Regions from separate parts of the Homo sapiens genome. Here region 1 is linked to region 2. The links are contacts of gene promoters, found by promoter capture Hi-C in human tissues and cell types (Jung and others, 2019). All regions are on one chromosome and are shown on one strand. Each heading gives the region's core, a stretch centred on a gene start or on the middle of the fragment in contact. The rest is flanking DNA. Distances are from core to core; before and after follow the strand shown.

The links. Contacts are between HindIII fragments. The study calls those that stand out against the background at their distance.
Region 1: a fragment that was not itself captured here is called in contact with the fragment with the promoter of PTS in region 2 in 1 of the 25 tissues and cell types used here (dorsolateral prefrontal cortex).

The regions. Positions count from the first base shown.
Region 1 is chr11:112,973,092-112,975,817 of GRCh38, forward strand. The region is part of intron 1 of NCAM1 (neural cell adhesion molecule 1); the gene reads left to right. Among named protein-coding and RNA genes, the nearest start is that of NCAM1-AS2, 11 kb to the left of the region's middle. The HindIII fragment of the contact is 3,946 bases long and covers 1-2,726 here.
Region 2 is chr11:112,224,972-112,227,794 of GRCh38, forward strand. PTS (6-pyruvoyltetrahydropterin synthase) reads left to right here and starts at 1,457. Exons shown (of 6, transcript NM_000317.3): 1 at 1,457-1,555. The coding sequence starts at 1,473. RefSeq lists silencers at 1,328-1,737, 2,095-2,389. The HindIII fragment of the contact is 11,416 bases long and covers 1-2,823 here.

The sequences.
Region 1 (2,726 bases), core at 123-2,622, 750 kb after region 2:
TCATTGCCTGTGGTGTTCATACATTTATTTCTAGACCTTTAAAAAATGTTTCTATAGCAAAATCTTTTGAAGCTTGTTCTGCATGTCACAAATTGGATGTGCTGTTTTTATCAGATCAGCACAGGAGTGATTGATTACTTTTCTAATGTTCGTTTAGTCATTTTCAATTTGAGTGTCCATTCTGTTCACATGAGAGGCTGCCAGTCACCAGTTAAGCTGCAATTGCTATATGAGAATTGGACTTACAGTACTCCATAAAGGTGTACTTTAAGCAGCCTTAAAGGCCTGTTATCAAGGGCATAAGAAGATGGAAATCCAATGAAAGCTCTTTGGTTTGGGTACATAATTATAAATTATCTTTCTTTCTTTCTGAATTTAGTATCTCCTTTTGGTGTTGGAGGCAGTGCATACTGCACAGGGTGCCCCATGGACCTTTGGTATCAAACCCACATTTCGAACTGTGACTCTCCTGCTTTTCATGACCTTGAGCCAGTTATTTAATCTCCAACGGTCAGTTTATTTATCTGTGAATCAGGGATAATACCTAACTAATAGGGTTATTGTGAGGATGAAATGAGGTAGTTTATACAACTGTCTGGCACATAGTGAGCTCAGCAATTTTTTCCCATATCCTTTCTTTCTGCTAAAGTTCACAGTGAAGGGATATACAATTCGCGTTGGATTTAAGTATTGATTCTAATGAGAATCACATTTTCCATTTATTTTTCATGTTCTGAGAGTTCAGGATCACTGTGAATTGCAACTGAGTTGGAAATGCCATGCTTCATTGTGGAGCTGTTTTACCTCCTATGAAAGCAAAGCCTAGTAGATCTTGATTTTGACAAAAGTAATAGTTAAAAAATTAAAAGTGGTTTATCTAGATTCTCCTTTCCATTTGCATAGGGTTAATATCAAATCTGTCAATTCACTATAATGGTTGAGCCATAAAATTTAGTGTATTTAAATAATGGTTGCTGCTAAAGATCATATTGGTGACACTTCATTAATCTGGAAGTCACTTAATCTGGAAGTCACTTACCTGGCAACCCTGATTCTTTGAAACATGAAGAATGAAGAAGTAACGGAAAGAGGCCTCTGAAGAGCTAGCATAGCATCTTTTTCTTTCTTGATGCAATATCTTTCATATCGCTGAGGAGTTCATAACATTTCTCTTGCTTCTTGTCTCTTTTTGTCTGAATTCCTCTTTATTATGTTTGCTGTTGTATCTCCTTTTGTGTTTCATGTTGTTTCATTTAACTCCTCAAATTCTAATGATCCCTGGCTGCCTATTAGTAAAGAGTGAGACCCTGAAGAGCTGTGGGGCTCAGTGTGGGATGTCACACACTGAAAGACTGTGCAGAAACTTGGTTTATTGGGTGGGGGACATCCATGTATATTCATGAGTACTTACATTTTCTTTTGGACTGATTGACTTAAGAGAATCCAAAATTTTGCAGCAGGCACGGTATAAGTCCAACTACTATTTTTCTCTAAGCTGAATAAGAAATGGATTGGGGGTAATTTTTTCTTCTGTAGTCTAGACTTCATTTAATTCTCCTATTTTCAGTAGGGTGCTTCTGCCCTCAACAAAGTCTGGTATATGCAAGGACAAAGTGCATCTGGTTCAATCTCTCTATTTATAAAAATTGAGCCTTCTGCTGAGGTGAGGGGAGTATGGGAGAAGAGACATATGGCTGCCACCCTCCTGTAGCTTACAGTTTGTGTGTGTGTGTGTGTGTGTATGTATGTGTGTGTGTGTTTGAATTAGTGGTATCAGAGGCTCTATTGACTTTAATTTTGGAGCAGACTCAGAACCCACTGATGACCTATCTCCTTCAGGGTTTCTAATTGCTAAAGTCCAAAGCGGGCTTTTAAAATCTTTTTTGAAGTCTTTTATCTTGCACGTTTTAGGGTAGGATCGTTGAGACTGAAAGAAGCTTGCAGTTCTTAAAGGAAAAGGGACATGCTCTAGGGGTGCATCAAAGGCAAAAACCCGAACAGAGGAATGTTCAGACAACTTCAAGGGATTGACAATTTAAAGAGTTTTGAGGAAACTTTTCTGAACTGAAGCATTCTCAAGAGATTCCAAGGTGGCCTGAGATTCCACATTTCTTTGATAGAAAGACGTGGACTTGGCAGTGATTTTGCAAATCAGAACAAGAACAATTTTATGAACACATTGGCAAGTGGCCATGTCTCAGACTTGTTGGGTAGTTAAATGTCCACTAGAAACATTGACTTAATCCAGTATTTATGAAATAACTCCCGTATTCTATGTAGTTGGTCTAGGAATTGGAGGTGAAAGATGAATACCATTCAGCTTTGTGAAAAATTCTAGACCACGTTCAAAAAGTTTTTTGTTTATACTTGTAATATTTATGCCTGTGGAATGACACAAAAGACAATCTTGAAATGTCAGAAAATGATAAATAAGAGTTATTTGTTATTTTCTCAGCATTTTTTTCCTTTTGTGTGTGTAAGTGAAAGTTACTCATCACGTTTAAAATTTAAAATTTTCATCAAAGAAAACCATCTGTCATAATGAAGTAAAAAAGGGACATTATGTGATTTTCTTTGAAGATAAGGGATTGAAAGTGAGTCAGTTAACTGCCCTAGGTTACCATTTGAGGTCATTTTGAACTAAATTGGCTTTGGAATCAGAATTTAAATTACCAGTCAGACTCAATTAAGATAACTGGTCATGAAGGCAGTTCATTCGCCTGCCT
Region 2 (2,823 bases), core at 207-2,706:
TGACAAAGGGCTAATATCCAGAATCTACAAAGAACTTAAACAAATTTATAAGAAAAAAAATCAAACAACCCCATCAAAAAGTGGGCAAAGCATATGAACAGACACTTCTCAAAAGAAGACATTTCTGCAGCCAACAGACACATGAAAAAATGCTCATCATCACTGGCCATCAGAGAAATGCCAATCAAAACCACAATGAGATACCATTTCACACCAGTTAGAATGGCGATCATTAAAAAGTTGGGAAACAACAGATGTTGGAGAGGATGTGGAGAAATAGGAATGCTTTTACACTGTTGGTGGGAGTGTAAATGAGTTCAACCATTGTGGAAGACAGTGTGACGATTCCTCAAGGATCTAGAACTAGAAATATCATTTGACCCAGCCATCCCATTACTGGGTATATACCCAAAGGATTATAAATCATGCTACTTTAAAGACACATGCACCTGTATGTTTATTGTGGCACTATTCACAATTGCAAAGACTTGGAACCAACCCAAATGTCCATTAATGATAGACTGGATTAAGAAAATGTGGCACATGTACACCATGGAATATTATGCAGCCATAAAAACGATGAATTCATGTCCTTTGCAGGGACATGGATGAAGCTGGAAACCATCATTCTCAGCAAACTATCACAAGGACAGAAAACCAAACACTGCATGTTCTCACCCATAGGTGGGAATCAAACAATGAGAACACATGGACACAGGGTGGGGAACATCACACACCGGTGCCTGTCAGGGAGTAGGGGGCTGGGGGAGGGATAGCATTAGGAGAAATACCTAATGTAAATGACGAGTTGATGGGTGCAGCAAACCAACATAACACATGAATACCTATGTAACAAACCTGCACGTTGTGCACATGTACCCTAGAACTTAAAGTATAATAATAATTAAAAAGAAAAAAGAAAAAGAGAAACGAGGGTCTTGCTCTATTGCCCAGGTTGGACTCCTGGGCTGAAGTGATCCCTCTCCTTCTCAATAGCTGGGGCTACAGGAGTGCGTCACCACGCCCGCCTGGCTCAATTCCTGCTCCTTTTGGTCTATAAAGCGGACTGTGGCCCTGGGGTTCATCCGATTGAGTCACCAGTCACTGGAGCTTTACAGGAGAGAGTGGGAGAGGAGGCTCAGAGAGGTCACTCAGGACCCAAAGTGTGCCCAGACGGGCCCTAACTACGTGGCGTGACCTCAGGCGGGGCAAACAGATCAAGGACACAGGGTCCCCACCCACCCTGACCACTCCAGGGTATGCTTAGGTATCCCAAATCTTGCTCTCCGAAGAGATTCAGATAGCGAGAGACACCCTTAACTGTCTCCCGAGGCCGGGATTGGCCAGAGCGGAAGCGGAGACGCACTTCCTAGGGGCGCGTCTGGCACGCACTGCGCAGCCGCGGTGGGAGGAGGCACCGGCCGCGCGGCGGGAGGAGGTGCCGGCCGAGCACCGCAGACAGCGCCGGGAAGATGAGCACGGAAGGTGGTGGCCGTCGCTGCCAGGCACAAGTGTCCCGCCGCATCTCCTTCAGCGCGAGCCACCGATTGTACAGGTAGGGTGTGCACACAGGTACAGCGGCGGGCGGTGGGCGCCGGGCCCCGGAACGTCACCGGGGCGGGGCCGGCGGGCGTGCTGACGTCGGGCCCGGGAGGGGCGCGGGGGCTGCTGGGGCGACGCGCGCTGGTCGGCTTCGTGGGGCTTCGGACGGCCTCCAGCATCCTGATGGGGGCTGGAGTGTCCCCAGCCCTGGAGGGGTGGGGGAGCTTGATGGTTAACGGAGCCGACTGCGGAGGGCGATGGCCCACGTCTGGGTGCGGGGCCCACACCCGGTTCTGCGACTCGAAGAAACGTCTCTGCCCCTAGGAGTCCCTTGGTGTAGACCACAGGGTTGCTGTGAAACTCAGCAGTGTTAAACTCGCCTATGTTACACAGTACCTGGCGCGGCGTAGACACTCAGTAAATGTTAGCTAATCTTGTATGCCAGGAGCATTGGCCACCATATCTAATGTAATTACAAGGCAAATTTTAGCCCCTTTTTTACCAAAGACTGGATGAACCCAGTCCCTGGTGGTCTAGTGGCTAGGAGAAAAAAAAAAAAAAATGAGCCCAGACGTTCAGTTTCCGAAGCAGCATAGTTGGGATTTGAATCCCGATCATACATACTGCTTGCATGCACTGACGAGTTGATTTTGAGGAATTTTACCACGCACTAACCAGCTCCACCCTCTGGCCCTCCGTATCGTCGTCTGTGAAATGAGGATGACCATCGCTATCTAACAGGATTCATCCCTCCATTCGCTAAACCAGGTTTTGTTTCGTGCTTGTCAGGGCTTGTGCTAGGTAACGGATGCATCAGGGATCTTGTATGGGGTTTCCAATCTGGCCTATTTTGTGGAGGGTACACTGAGAAAATTTTGTGCAAAAGACTTTAGCACTCTAAATACAAGAAGTGGCTGAGCAGGAGAAAGTGGGGGTGTGTTATTCCATTTTGCATTGCCACAAAGGAATACTGAGACTGGTATTTTATAAAGAAAAGAGGTTTATTTGGTTCTGCAGGCTGTACAAGAAGCATGGCACCAGCATCTGCTTCTGTTGAGGCCTCAGGGACCTTCCACTCATGGTGGAAGGCGAAGGGCGAGCAAGCAGGCAACTCACAGGGCAAGTGAGGGAGCAAGAGAGAGGAGAGGAGGTGCCAGGCTTTTTTTAACAACCAGCTCGCCCATTGACTAATAGAGCGAGAACTCACTCATTGCTTCAGGGAGGGCACCAAGCCATTCATAAGGGATCCACTTCCATGAGCCAAACATCTCCCACTAGGCC